5 separate regions of the Homo sapiens genome follow, and regions 2, 3, 4 and 5 are each linked to region 1. The links are contacts of gene promoters, found by promoter capture Hi-C in blood cells and fetal thymus (Javierre and others, 2016). All regions are on one chromosome and are shown on one strand. The core of a region is centred on a gene start or on the middle of the fragment in contact, and the rest is flanking DNA. Distances in the headings are between cores, read along the strand shown.

What was found. The method cuts DNA at HindIII sites, captures the fragments that hold promoters and counts their contacts. A CHiCAGO score of 5 or more calls a contact.
Region 2: a fragment that was not itself captured here is called in contact with the fragment with the promoter of NEK9 in region 1 in 2 of 17 cell types (monocytes and neutrophils); the score reaches 13.2 in monocytes.
Region 3: a contact is called between a fragment that was not itself captured here and the fragment with the promoter of NEK9 in region 1, in 1 of 17 cell types (erythroblasts). The highest score is 5.2, in erythroblasts.
Region 4: a fragment that was not itself captured here is called in contact with the fragment with the promoter of NEK9 in region 1 in 6 of 17 cell types (monocytes, neutrophils, activated CD4 T cells and 3 more); the score reaches 14.8 in monocytes.
Region 5: a contact is called between a fragment that was not itself captured here and the fragment with the promoter of NEK9 in region 1, in 11 of 17 cell types (monocytes, neutrophils, activated CD4 T cells and 8 more). The highest score is 13.4, in monocytes.

The regions. Positions count from the first base shown.
Region 1 is chr14:75,125,525-75,128,394 of GRCh38, reverse strand. It overlaps NEK9 (NIMA related kinase 9), which reads left to right and starts at 1,347. Exons shown (of 22, transcript NM_033116.6): 1 at 1,347-1,692. The coding sequence starts at 1,474. RefSeq lists enhancers at 1,294-1,423, 1,434-1,483. The HindIII fragment of the contact is 1,961 bases long and covers 250-2,210 here.
Region 2 is chr14:75,366,091-75,368,960 of GRCh38, reverse strand. No RefSeq gene overlaps it. Among named protein-coding and RNA genes, the nearest start is that of JDP2-AS1, 60 kb to the left of the region's middle. The HindIII fragment of the contact is 681 bases long and covers 1,169-1,849 here.
Region 3 is chr14:74,883,517-74,886,386 of GRCh38, reverse strand. DLST (dihydrolipoamide S-succinyltransferase) reads right to left here. Exons shown (of 15, transcript NM_001933.5): 3 at 753-801. Among named protein-coding and RNA genes, the nearest start is that of DLST, 3.0 kb to the right of the region's middle. The HindIII fragment of the contact is 644 bases long and covers 1,170-1,813 here.
Region 4 is chr14:75,347,232-75,350,101 of GRCh38, reverse strand. No RefSeq gene overlaps it. Among named protein-coding and RNA genes, the nearest start is that of LINC01220, 54 kb to the right of the region's middle. The HindIII fragment of the contact is 2,792 bases long and covers 1-2,742 here.
Region 5 is chr14:75,329,686-75,332,555 of GRCh38, reverse strand. No RefSeq gene overlaps it. Among named protein-coding and RNA genes, the nearest start is that of LINC01220, 37 kb to the right of the region's middle. The HindIII fragment of the contact is 884 bases long and covers 1,042-1,925 here.

The DNA.
Region 1 (2,870 bases), core at 98-2,597:
CAGATTGCTGGGTTCAACTTCCCAGCTCCCTCTTACTAGGTCTGTCACATTAAGCAGGTTACTTAGGTACCTCTGTTTCTGTAAAATGGGAATGTTAGGATAATACATAATACATAATACATAGGATAATACATAATAATGTGAGATAATACGTAAAAAACCTTTAGCATAGTACCCAGAACATAACACTCAATAAATGTTAGCTGTTATGTCTGTGATGTAGACCACATTCTCACAACAAAACAAGCTTGGAGATGAGAAGTTGCCCAAGGTCACATAATTGCCCAAGGTCACATAACTGATGGAACACCTATTGTTCACCGTATTGCTGTTTTCCTACTTGACGGTAGGGAGAACATTATTGCAGATTTCCTGTTCCCAAACAGTGTGTGGCACCAAGTGCTCAAAGAATGTTTCATGATATCATATGGTCAAATATCTGGAAAAACACATAGAATAAATTGAATCTGGAAAAAGAGACGGGGGAGAAGGAAAGTGTCAGGAGAGTTGACTTAAAATATTTTTGGAGTTGTGTAGAAGAGGGAGGGACTTAGGATGGCCCTGGGAGAAAGAACTCGGCCCAGGGACCGAGATGACCGGAGGCAGACATTTAGGCTGTCTATATTATTATTATTTTTTTTTTTTTTGAGACAAAGTCTCGCTCTGTTATCCAGGCTGGAGTGTAGTGCGCGATCTCGGCTCGCTGCAACCTCCTCCTTCCGGGTTCAAGTGATTCACCTGCCTCAGCCTCTGGAGTAGCTGGGATTACAGGTGCCTGCCACCACGCCTGGCTAATTTTTGTATTTTATAGAGACGGGGTTTCACCAGTTGGTCAGGCTGGTCTCAAACGCCTGACCTCAGGTGATCCGCCCGCCTCGGCTTCCTAACATGCTGAGATTACAGGCGTGAGCCACCTTGCCCGGCCATATTATCTTTACTATACTATCTCTCTAAAAAAGAATGCTGTCCAACGTTGGAATGGGGAAGAAGGTGTACACTGGGAATGCTTCCCCAATCACCCTCTTGTCACAGACCTGACGTCAAGATGAGACTGGACGACCTCTGGGCCTCCAAGTTGTATGAGTCCGGACCGGGGAGGCAGAGAAGGGTCAATAGACCCGAGAGGCCGTACCGTCAGTGATGCCCTTGTTCCCGTGGGAGCCCTTCGGTTCCACGCGGTTCCCACCACGCGCCCGCCAACCCTAGCCCGAGGCCTCACTTTGCAGGCCTTCCCCGAAAGCGGGAAGCCTTGGCCGCTAGACTAGCCAAGAGGGTAAGCAAAGGCGGAGGAAACTCAGCCAGGCCGGAAACACAGAGAACTGTTTCCGGGTCGGGGGGCAGGAGCCACCATCGAGCTTCGCGGGGTTGCTGGGCTGACGGATCCGCGGGCCGGCATCTGAAGCGAGCGGGACGCAGCGCGGCCAGGGCCTCCGGGCATACGCAGGCTGGTCCCCAAGGCCCGCGGCCGCCGCCATGTCGGTGCTGGGCGAGTACGAGCGACACTGCGATTCCATCAACTCGGACTTTGGGAGCGAGTCCGGGGGTTGCGGGGACTCGAGTCCGGGGCCTAGCGCCAGTCAGGGGCCGCGAGCCGGCGGCGGCGCGGCGGAGCAGGAGGAACTGCACTACATCCCCATCCGCGTCCTGGGCCGCGGCGCCTTCGGGGAAGCCACGCTGTACCGCCGCACCGAGGTAGCGGCCCTCGGCGCCGGCCGCCCTGTCTGGCGCTGTCGGGTCGCCCCGAGTCCCTCCTTCTCGGCCCCGCTTTCCCAGCGTCGTGAGCTTAGTGCTTTAGGCGCCCACGGGGTATATGTCTTAGGGTCTTCACCACTCTTCCCACTCACCGGCACTAGAAATTGGCTAGATCATTGGTTTGACTAGTCATTTTTGATTGTCCTAAGTCACCTAACCGTCTCTTGAGCTTTAGTTTCCCCATCTGTAAAATGGGCTTACTGATAATACCTTGAAATCATCTTTTTCTTTTTTTTTTAAGATTATCTTGAGAATCAAACGAAGGCTCTGTTCTGTAAATTAAAGTGGTATACGAATGTGAGGTATTGCCAAAACTTCCTTCCTCTCATGCTGTATATATAGTTCTCCAAGGTCGGGGTGAGGAGGAGGGGCATAGCTTCAAAATCCCCACACCCGTGGCAACTCCGTTATTTTTGTCATTATCTTTAAGTTCAGCAGTGATCACTCAGTTGGAAGCTTTTCTTGAAGCTCATTGGGAAGATCTTTGTGTGTTGGTTCTTTATCAGTGTTTATCTTGCAGGGTTTATGCATGGGAAATACTTTGTTGGTATATTCTAAGCCATTAGTTCTTAATTTGGGGGGCACAAGGACCCCTTTGATAACCTAAGCAAAGTAATCTTGCCCCCTCCATCAACACATTTGCACATATGCACATCCTTTGGAGAGATCCATGGATCACGGAATCCCAAGTTAATATATACTAGTGTAAAACCCTGCAGTGATTATTCTACTTCCAAAAACTAACGATACACTAGATTTGATCATAAAATCTTACTTTAGGGTAAACATTTAATGAGAACTTGCTGGGGTTGCTGAAGGTGATTCATCCGTCGGAAATCCATCTGCAGTTCTGGTGTGTGTTCCAAGCCAGCATACTTTTAAGGCTGAAAGATGGAGAAGGAGAGAAGTGGTTGCAAGAGAATATTTTTAAGTGTTCTTTTTTATCCTGATGCCACGTTAATGTATGATGTTAGAGTTAGTTATTCTTAGTAGTCTGTTTTCTTTTTTGCACTCAAAATGAGAAAGAGGAGATAAGGATTGTTATTTCTATATTTTAGTTAGAGAAACTAAAACAGTATACTTAAGTGACTTGCTCACTTAAGTTACAAGTAAATCTT
Region 2 (2,870 bases), core at 260-2,759, 240 kb before region 1:
GGACTTCCCAGCCTCCAGAATCATGAGCCAAATTGAGCCTTTATCAATTATATAGTCTGTGATATTCTGCTATAGCAGCAGAAAACAGACTAAGACACCACTTTATCAGAGCAGGGAGACAATAGATAATGTCCCCAGCTGACCTACTGGAACAGAGAAGAATTATCATATTGCTTAGAGATATGAAGGCAAACTGGCATAACCAGAAATTGAGACAGTTAAAAGCTACTGCCTCCAGGAGGCAAGATTGAATCCAAGGAGTGGGATGGAGGCCTATTTTTAACTTAAGTCCTTCTGTGCCATTTATCTTTCTAACTGTGTGCATGTAGATCTTCAATTAAATGTTTGTAAATTTTTAAAAATTCAGATCTGTCTGATTCCAAAGCTGCATCCCAGAGTTATGCCCCAGGCAGGCTAATCGGAAATTCATGGACAAGTCTGTTTGGAGTAGGCAGACAGAACTGTTGCTTACTTCATAGGAATCAAGCACAGCAGTGAGTGTCTTAGGCTTGGTTTGGCAGCAGTGCCTGGTGCATACATTCCTAAGGTAAGAAGCTGGCCAAGCCCTTCATCTCATACCCCAAATAGATGGACACACAGATTCTGAGAGTCAGGGGAAATACCAGCCCCCATACTGTGTTGGACTGGAGGCCTCTTCATTTCCACTAGATTGCTGCTGAACTTGCCATCACCAAGAATAGGGATTCACTTTTGACTTTCTGGGCCCCTCCCAGACTTTAATATCTATGATTGAGACTCTCAGCAGCAGGGACCTGCTAACTGGAGAATGTCAGCAATTGGGTTGGCACAGGAGAAGGAGCTTCTCCATTGTGAAGTTCTTCTCAAAGGCTACTGTGGCAGGGTGGTTAATATGGGAGGGTCAGTTGGTTGGATAATGCCCCTTCTTATTTAAGAAAAAACAACAACACTTTTTTTAGACTTACGAATGCAATACGACTACAGTACTGAAAGTTTGGGAAATTCAGAAAGGTTGCCCCAAAACCCCACCACCCTAACACAATCAATCATTACTTTTTGCCATAGTTTCTCACTTCATTCTCCTCTGCATCTGTTTTTTTCAGTCTGTCATCACAGTGTACACTAATTTGACCCTCGTATCTTCTGCTAAATTTATATCATAAGCATTTTCCATGTTGTTATGTAAGCTTCATAACTATCATTTTAAATAGTGCATAATATGAAGTGCAGGATTTTGTCCCTGAACCTAGGAACACTGGAACCTGGTGTACGGTAGACAATATGTGTTTTTAAATGAATGGAATGAGTAATTGGGCCATAATTTATTATTCTTCTACTGTGAGATATTTAAGAAATTTGTTCCCAATCTTCCAACACATTGTCTTATTTCTTGCCTGAACGCCCTTCCTTTTTTTCCTTCTTCATTCAATTTCCCCAAGACATTCTCAAACTGCTCTTTGCCCCTCTTTCCCAGATCCCACTGGCTCTATCCTTCATGTATCACAAATCAAACAGGTGTGTGTTAAGCACAGGACAGGGTTGCATAAGAAAAGCCAAATCCTGTTCATGGTGGCTTAGCCGAGTGGGAAACATCTACAAGCCACGTGCAGATCCTGCCTGAGCTGAAACCCCACCATGTCCTTCAGAGTCAATGTGTTCTGTCAACACTGCTAACACCATCAGGTAGCCGTCTGCCTAAAATAGTGGCCCAGACCCTGCCAGTTATTGCGTCTCATTGCTTACATTTTTCATGTGAATTTAAACATTCAAACATCACGAACATGAAACATGAACACTCAACCCACTGTGGCATTTTAATGAGGTTCAACTGGGTTCAGCACATTCCACTACTTACAATTGTGTAAAAGCTTTTCGACCCGGATCACTTCCTTAGGTCTGACCCCTTACAGCCAAGACAAACTTTGTGTTTTCTGAGCACTTGAAAGGCTGGGGAGAATTGTGTCTGGGGAGATGGTGAACCACCACAGGGCCTACCTTGGCTCTGATTAGCTGGACCAGACATTTAACTGAGCTAATCAAAAGCCCCTGAAGAGGAAATGGCTGCATGATAAACTCTGATGGGAGATTCTCACTCACTCACCCTGAAAACCCTCCCCACACACTTTACCTTGCTTTCTACTCTTTGCAAATCATAGCACATCTGCAGTTCCTAGAAGTTTCCCATGGAGAGAGTAAAGAGTTATTAATATTCCCATCTGACAGATGTGGCAATTGAGGCCTGGAAAAATAGGGTGACTTTTGTGAGACTGCAGGACAAAGCACTAGTCATCTAAGGTTCCTTCTACTAAACAGATTTTGGTACAAACTAAGCTGTAAGAAAGAGGCTTAAAATACACAAGCCGGCTGGCATGGTGGCTCACGCCTGTAATCCCAGCACTTTGGGAGGCCAAGACAGGAGGATCACTGGAGGCTAGGAATTTGAGACCAGCCTGGTCAATAAAGAGAGACCCTGTCTCTACAAAAAAAAATTTTTTATAAAAGAAATACACCAGCCCACAGGTAGGTGGTCCAGGCTATTAGGGTGGCTCTGCCATCTTCAATGCAGGCTTCCATTGCTGCATCCAAGGTGGCTTCTCCAGTGGTCCTCATCCCCCCAGTAAGAACGAGAAATGGGAAGAGAAGCAGCCATACACTCCTTTTTTGGGCCACACTCAAACGTGTGTTTCTTCTGATCCCTCAGTGGCTGAGACATTGTCACATGGACAGACCCAATAACAAAGGAGGTTGGGTGGCCTTCTGTCCAGCTCCCACTCTGGAGTTCTGTTATCAAATGGAGGGGGAAATGGATATCAGTGGACAACCAGCCCACTGCAGCACATAAGTCATGACAACTCCACAGCTGGTAGATGAGGAAGCCCAAGGTGCTTGGT
Region 3 (2,870 bases), core at 242-2,741, 240 kb after region 1:
CTACCGCACTCCAGCCAAAGTGGCAGAGCAAGATCCTGTCTCAAAACAACAACAACAAAAACCCTCATTGTGATGTAGAGTAAGTAAGAAGCTCATCCGCTGACCTCTTCACTTTGAGGATTCTCCCTGTAGAGTAAGCAGCCTGACAGCTGCTGAACAGGTTACTAGAGAGCATTCTCTTAGCACCACCACAAAAACACTTGGAATGCAAAGCAGCATTTAAGCAACATTCATACGCAGAAGTTAATCTGAAACACACATGGGTAGCCTTTCTCCAAACTCTGCATTATGCAATAACAGCATTCCCTCCAAACTAGTCAGTCAGTCCCAGGACTCAACCAGTTTTATGCTTTTACTGTTTTTAAAAATGAGTAACTATGCTACTGAGAGGATGCTCTCAATCTCCACAATAAATGTAACCTCGAGCCTTTCAGCTGCACTTACATCCAAACAGAATATCTAGGAGCACCCTTCTATATCCCATAAAAAGAGGATTCCAACTTAACTTTCATTATAATCCAAACACCTGTGGAGAGTGGGCACACTCCCAGTCCAAAACCTGACACGGAGCTGATGCTCAAGGAACATCACATGGGAAAAGTGAACATTGAGGTTAGTCTAGGGACTCAACATAATCACCTCAATTTCTAGGTCTGGAGGCCAGTGAAGAAATCAGATGGTCAAATTTAGAACTTTATGTCTTTAAATAAATAACCCGTGGCCACATATCTGTACTCCCCAGTGATACTTACACAACCTTCCTGCTGTTAGGGTAACCTGGTCCCTGGCATAAGGAGACCCCTGCAAGAAACAAAATAACTCTTAACCAACAACTCTTATCTCACAAAGGATACATGCTGGGAATGGAAAAGGTCTGCTCACCCCCAACCCTGAGACAGAGCAGGATCAACGGCAACGGATATAATCTTTATCATAGAGTCCTGCTTCTCAAACTTTTCCAAAGTAGCCTTAGTGGCAGAGAGCAAATGGGTATGTGAGATCGAGTGGGTATGTGTTTGGCTGGGGAGGAAAGAGAAAAAATTTGATGGCACAGCCCAAAGTGATTATATAATCTCATCTACCTTAAAAAGCCAGAACTTTTCATTATTCCTGTATGTTTTCATAATAAAATGTCTCTACTCGCCAAGTCTTCAAATACAACTGAAGCTTGAGAAAGACATGGGATGGCTTATCCTGTGACTATACATAACCCAATTTGAGAAGCAAGGAGGATGTTTGGTCTGGGTTTGAAAAGATTGGGTTGGAAATCTTATCACCTGAATCCTAGTAGCAAAGACTTGGCTACTTTAGGCTCGGGGTCTCCAGTTTGTCCTAGAGCTGAGAAAATCATGTCCCCATCTTTCAGTTTATTGACTTCCCATGCCTTTCTGAAGTCTTCCACCCTGGTCACTCTCAACAAGGTGAGAGACCCTTTCTGCCCACCAGCTGTCCTTATCATAGTTAACTGCATTTCCCCAACTGATGACTAGTAACTACAGCTGCCTCTTCTGAATTCTTTCTTATGTCTTTTTTCTTTCAGATTAACAACTCTTTCTGAACCATGGGCTCAGGACACACCAAATGAGAGCTAGCCCTCTCTTATGCCCACCTCCTCACAAGCATCCCAAGATAGGTAAGCCAGTCACCTTTATGTCCAGCAGCCAATGACTATGCAGTGCAAATTCTAAGCATAGTATGTTTTTGAACTAGAATAGATGGCGGCTCACACTGATTTTGGGAACCTGGAGTCCAATTCAGAGTTCATCCTACAGCAAATTTCATTTGTACAGTGCTTTAGGGTTTATAAAAAGCTTTCCCATAATGACCTCATTTTGATTTTACAGTCTCACAACTCTCTGAAGTGGAACGACCATCTGCCATTATTCCCATTTCATATAAGTAGGACTTTTGGAGGTTAAGCGACTAGCCCAAGGTGAATCCCTGAGCCCAAATGCAAATCCCCAAGTGCAAGGCTCTTTCCATTGTCCTGCCCACCTATGAAGTGGAGAAAATGTTTACTGACATTGTTCAGGGTTCCCACTTGAAAAACATGTTTGTTATTGAGAGTCCACTACAAGCCGACATTGTGCTAGGGGCTTTATGTTCTCATAACTCTCAGGATAAAGTCCACACTTTACGCGATCCTGTACCGTCCAGCCCACTCTATCTTTCCTGCCAGACAGGCTTCTTCCCATGTCTATCACTGGTCAAGTCCTTTCCTGTCTGAAAACCTTTGCACAAGCAATTCCCTTTGCCTGGAATACATTTTCTTGGCTCTTTTATATTCAGGTCTCAGTTAAATGTCACTTCTTCAGGGAAGCCTTTACTGACATTCCCAACCTTCCCAAGCTGGTCTACATCATCCCACCCTCTCATCACACCCTTTAATTCCTCTCTCGTAGTAACCAAAATTTATGCCCTTGTCGGAGCATAAATGTATATTTGCTCTCTCTCTCCAGCTAGCCCATAAAATCTCGAGGCTAGAGTCTATCTATACCCCTGTTACCTAGAACAGTGGCTGGCATATAGTAAGCACTCAATAAATGATCTGTTGAGTCCATGAGTAAATGAGAACATGGTGGGTTAAGAGTTCAGGATGGGTCAGGTAGACCTGGCTTATCAACAGCTGGGTGGGTGACCATGGCCAAGGCTTTTAAGCTCTCTTGTCTTGGGTTATGCATTTGTAAAATAGAGAAAATACTTTTTACTGTTTTGAGATGATTAACTAAAAAATTCACAGAAAGCACTCATATAAATGCTTGGCACAAAGAAAGCCCACAACAAGGTCAACTCATTCAACAAATACTTAGGCTAGGCATATAACAGAAAAAAAGCTATGGATGACACTTTTTTCTTTTTAACTGCTAGGA
Region 4 (2,870 bases), core at 97-2,596, 220 kb before region 1:
CTCTATGTCTGTGAGCACATCTGTTTGTTTTCAGTTTAGGGGAGGAAAATTGCAGCCAGGCCTCTGCCATAACTAGCAATACTTAGCACCACTCTCTCCCTCCCCAGATTAAAATGAGTTGTCCTGTAGTAGGGTAGCTAATGACCACTCTGTGACAACCAAAAATCTCAGTGGCTTAACACAATACAGGTTAATTTCTTACTTCTGTCACAGATCAATGAGAAATCAAAGGTGAGGAACTCTGCTCCATATAGTCATTCAGGGACCCAAGCCCTTTCCCTAGTGGCTCTGTTATCTCCTAAGACTTGGAATCCCCCACTACATCCTCAGTGTACAGCCAGCAGATGAAAGACCAGAGAGAGTGATGGATCACAGGGGACACTTTTAGGAACCAGGACCAGAGGTGGTATACGGCACTTTCACCTGCATCCCACTGGTCGGGACTGAGTCACATGCCCCAGCAAACTACAAGAGAGGCTGGGAAATGTAATCTAGCCATGTGCCCAAAAGGAAAAGGAAATGGAGGTTGGTGAACACATAGCAATCACCTCTCAGCCTGGAGTGCTTGGTCTGCAACCTAACCCCTCAATAAGCCCCATATCTTGAAGAATTTCAACCTTGTCTCAACCAAGCAGCCCAACCACAGCTGCTCAACCTGCCCCTAAGTATCAACTTAATGACATTGGTTCTCACACAATTGCTAGTCTTCGTTCATCCAATAAACAGTTACTGAGCACTTAATCATCCCCCAGTTGTTATGCTATACACCAGAGAGGCAAAGGCAAGTAAAAAAGTGGTCCCTGCCCTCAAGAAGACCCCATCTTGTATAACCTCATTCAAACCTAAGGAAAACATTTACTATATTATTATTTCGCCATTTAAAATCCTTTTCTTGGCTGGGTGCGGTTGCTTACGCCTGTAATCCCAGCACTTTGGGAGGCCGAGGCGGGCAGATCACTTGAGGTCAGGAATTCAAGACCTGCCTGGCCAATATGGTAAAACCCTGTCTCTACTAAAAATACAAAAATTAGCCGGGCATGGTGGCAAGTGCCTGTAGTCCCAGCTACTCAGGAGGCTGAGACAGGAGAATCACTTGAACCCAGGAGATGGAGATTGCAGTGAGCCGAGAAAGCACCACTACACTCCAGCCTGGTGACAGAGCAGGACTCCATCTCAAACAAACAAACAAACAAACAAACAAACAAAAAAACCCTTTTTTTGTCAAACATACAGGAAGGTGCCTAAAAAATAGGAACCTCACACAAATGTTAATTGCTTGTTATTGGGGAATAGGGGGTATCACCCAGGGCATGGTCTTGACTCCCAGTACAAGTGATCATGCCTCTTCCTTTGTTCCTTTGCCAGTTAACTCCTGGGATTATCCTCCGCCATGCTTCTCCCAGACTGACATGTGGGGAAGGCTGGCATCTCCATGTTTCTAACCTCTCTTCTGGTTGCCTCATAAAGTGTCTGGCTGTGGATCCGCTCCAGCCCCATACCAGCCCCAGGGCAGCAAGGCCTACCAAGAGGCCCAGGCAGCAGGTACTTATCTCCAGAACCATCAGGTATTTCGTGATGAGGTCTGAGGATTTATGATGGTGGTGCCTGGCTTCCTCAGTCTCCAACCAGGCACCATGAATGAAGTAGTGGGTAGGGTCTGCTGTCTGTACAACATCAAACATGCCCCAGATGCTCTTCAGAGTAGAAATCCATCAGGAGTTTTTGATTGTCCAGCATTAACTCCCTTAATCATCTGGGACAACTCCCCATTGTGCGGTATGGGATAAATGCAGTCCCTCCCCATCTCCAACCACCTCCAGAAATGGAAATGAGGAGGTTCTCTTTTTGACCTCCGCCACACTGAGCAGGCCTGGGAACGTGACCTAGGCTCAGCTAATCAGCCATTCCTACCAGGGATTTTGAGGCTGGAATGAGTGACCGAAGCAAAGGGCCAGTTCAGGGGCATTTGAGGAAGAGGTAGTATGTCTGATGGCAATGGTGACAGTGCTCTGGAGGCTGGGAGCAGGGGCAGCAATTTGGGGTCAGCCTGACCCAGATAAAACGCCTTTGTGCTCTTTGCGTCACTCCTGGTCACTTTCCAAGCCTGCTTTTCTAACCCCCAACAACTCTGTGAACCCCTGATAGCCTTCCTGTAATTTCCCTTTTTCCCTTATAGTCAAAGCCTCTGACTGATATGATGCCAAACCACCTCCGAGTCAAGGCCACATAGGATGGAGCGCACAGACAGACCAAAATCGCCTACTCCAACCCACCTCCACGCCTGCCTAAACAAATCCATCCACCTCCTGCCCAAGCAGAGCTCTGAGAGGTCATCTCCAAGCATCACAAGAGCTGACGAGAGGATGCTGCTGTCAGGGGTCAGGGTCAACTCCAGGAGAGGAGTTGAGGTGATGCTGCTGTTCACCTCTGAAAGTCTCTAAAAACAATCACAATAAGATCCAGCAGAATTTCAGAGGACTTCAGGCTCTTCAGAGGATGGGCTCTTCAGATACAGAAAAGCTGAAACTCACCTGGTTAAACTTAGTCCCCGCATTGAAGAGGGCCCTTTGGGTACTGGGGGCTAGTTTAGGGAAATTCTGAAACGCCTTTTTACATCTCCCAAAGAATGCAGAAACTCATTTTGGATCCTTTAATGCAATCTGACAGGTAATATGTCTTAGTCCATTTTCTGATGTTATAACAGAATATCACAGACTGGGTAATGTATAAATGATAGAAGCTTATTTGGCATATGGTTCTGGAGGTTGGGAAGTCCATGAGCATGATGCTGGCATCTTGCAAGGGCCTTCATGCTGCATCATCCCATGGCAGAAGGTGGAAAGACAAGTGAGCATGCAAGATAGAGAGAA
Region 5 (2,870 bases), core at 234-2,733, 200 kb before region 1:
AAAGTCCTTATCTTTAGAGATACATTCTTTAACATATTTCCAGGTGAAATGATATGGTGTCATGAGTTTGCTTCAAAGTAATATGGGAGGGGATTAAGCAGATGGGACATGGATAGGGAAGGAATGGCCTTGGGTCAATATTTCTTGGGACTAGGTAATGAGTAGATGAGGGTTCATTATACTCTTCTGTCTACTGCCTCCGTAATATAAAGTTAAATTAATTCTCCAGCCTTCCAAAAAGGGAGAAATGAATTAATGAACAAATATTGGCAAAACATTAGAAATTATTGAACCTGGGTGATAAATACACATGGATTTATTGTGTTATTTTTTCTACATTTTTATGTGTTTGAAAAAATGATTAAAAATGACTTTTTAAATGTTTATTTTTATTTTATTTATTTATTTATTTTGGCCAGGTGCAGTGACTCATGCCTGTAATCCCAGCACTTTGGGAGGCTGAGGTGGGTGGATCACTTGAGGTCAGTAGTTTGAGACCAGCCTGGCCAACATGGCAAAACCCCGTCTCTACTAAAAATAGAAAAATTAGCTGGGCATGGTGGCGGGTGCCTGTAATCCCAGCTACTTGGGAGGCTGAGGTGGGAGGATCTCTTGAACCCCAGAGGCAGAGGTTACAGTGAGCGGAGATCATGCCGCTGCCCTCAAGCCTGGGTGACAGAGTGAGACTGCATTTCAAAAAACAAAAACAAACAAAAAATAATAATAAAATAAAATGTTTAATTTCTTTTTTAATGCCACCTTATCACAAACCCTTCATCTGTGTAAAGCTAGGCCATGGGTATTCAACACGCACTACACAGATGTTGATGGACAAGTGTTTCCTCAAAGATCTCAAGTGCTTCTGCTGCCTCTTCCTTAGATGAGCACACTGAAATGCTCCAGAAAACAGAACTTCTTGGCTGGGCAGTGCTGCTTTGGCATCTCCATGCCTTTGCACTTGCTCTGCCCTCCACATAGACTGGCCTTCCCCAGTCCACCTGCCAAGCTCTTACTCAGTTTCAGCCCCTCTTCTCTAAAGCTTTCTCTGACCCTCCCAGGCCTTGTGTCACCACTGAGCCCTGTACATACCTCTGTGTTATACAGTTCACCTTGAAATCCAATTGTTCCTTGCATGCCTAGCCCCCACCCCACACTAAACTTTTAACTACTTGAGAGCAGGGACTTTATTTTTTATTTTTATTTTTTTGAGACAAGGTCTCGCTCTGTTGGCCAGGCTGGAGTAGAGTGATACAATTATACCTCACTGGCACTTCAAACTCCTGGGCTCAAAGGATCCTCCCGCTTCAGCTTCCTAAATAGCCACATGTACGTGCCACCACATCCAGTTAATTTCTAAAAAATTTTGGTAGAGACAGGGTCTCACCATCTTACCCAGGCTGGTCCTGAACTCCTGGGCTCAAGCAGTCCTTCTGCCTTGGCCTCCCGAAATCCTGGGATTACAGGCATGAGCCACCACGCCTGGCCCAGGGATAATGTTTCATTCAACTTTCCATCATTAGGACTTCAAATACCACCTATATGCTCATGACTCCCGAATCAACATCACCAACCTCACACTCCCCAGCACCAGACTCTTATAGCCAAATGCCTTGAACAAGGCAAATGCCTTCTGAACTTCTCCCCTTGGGTGTTCTACAGACCCCTGAAATTCACCGTGTCCAAAACTGAACACATTGTCTTTCCCCTAAACTTACTCTTCCTGCCATGCCTGAGCAGGTAAACAGAACCCTCCACTCAGTCGCTCAACCCACAAATACGAGGTCTACCCTTCACCCCTCTTCTCCTGCACTTCAGCTACTGATTTCACTTCCTACATAAGCCTTGAATGTTCCCACCTCCCTCATCCCTACAGCCCCTTCCTTGTTCAGGGCACCATTGCCTCTCTCCTAATGACAGCAAAAGCTTCTTCGCTGTTCTCCAATCTTGCCCCCTCCATCCCAAGTCTCCATATGAAAGTCTGATCTTTCTAAAATGCCAATATAATCCTATCATATCCTAATAAAATTCTTCCATGTCGCCCTAAAGTTCAAATTCTTCAACATTGAACATGGCTTACAAAGCCCCTTTGTGACTGACCTCAACTCACCTCACTCCCTATCATTTCTCTCTCCAACCCTGCCTACTAATCCCCAACGCACACACACACACACACACACACACACACACACACACTCAATAAGCTCTAGCCACTTGGAAGGACTTGCAGTTTCCCAGCATGCCTTACTCTTTCTGTGGCACAGACAGCACTGCCCACCAAATATCACATGGGCTCCCCTACATTCCTAGCCCTGTAGCATTTAGATGGAACTGGGTCACTGGTTCTGGACAATGGGTCATGAGCAGAAGTTGGATGATCACTCCAAGGCTAAATCATTCTCTCTCTCTCTTTTTCTTTTTCTTTTTTTTTTTGACAGAGTCTCGCTCTGTCACCCAGTCTGGAGCTGGAGTGCAGTGGCATGATCTCGGCTCACTGCAACCTCTGCCCCCCGGGTTCAAGCGATTCTCCTCCCTCAGCTTCCTGAGTAGCTGGGATTACAGGCATGTGCCACCATGCCTGGCTAATTTTTGTATTTTTAGTAGAGATGGGGTTTCGCCATGTTGGCCAGGCTGGTCTCAAACTCCTGACCTCAAGTGATCCACCAGCTTTGGTCTCCCAAAGTGCTGGGATTACAGGAGTGAGCCACCGCACCTGGCCTCTCTCGCTCTCTCTCTGTCTCTTCCTCCCCAGCCACATGTTGAGATGACAGAGTCTTGAGACGAAAGCACCCTGGATCACTGAGTCACCCCATGGAGGGCAGTGGCTCTGAATGCACATCAGACTCCCTGCAAGTGAGAATAAACTTTTTTCA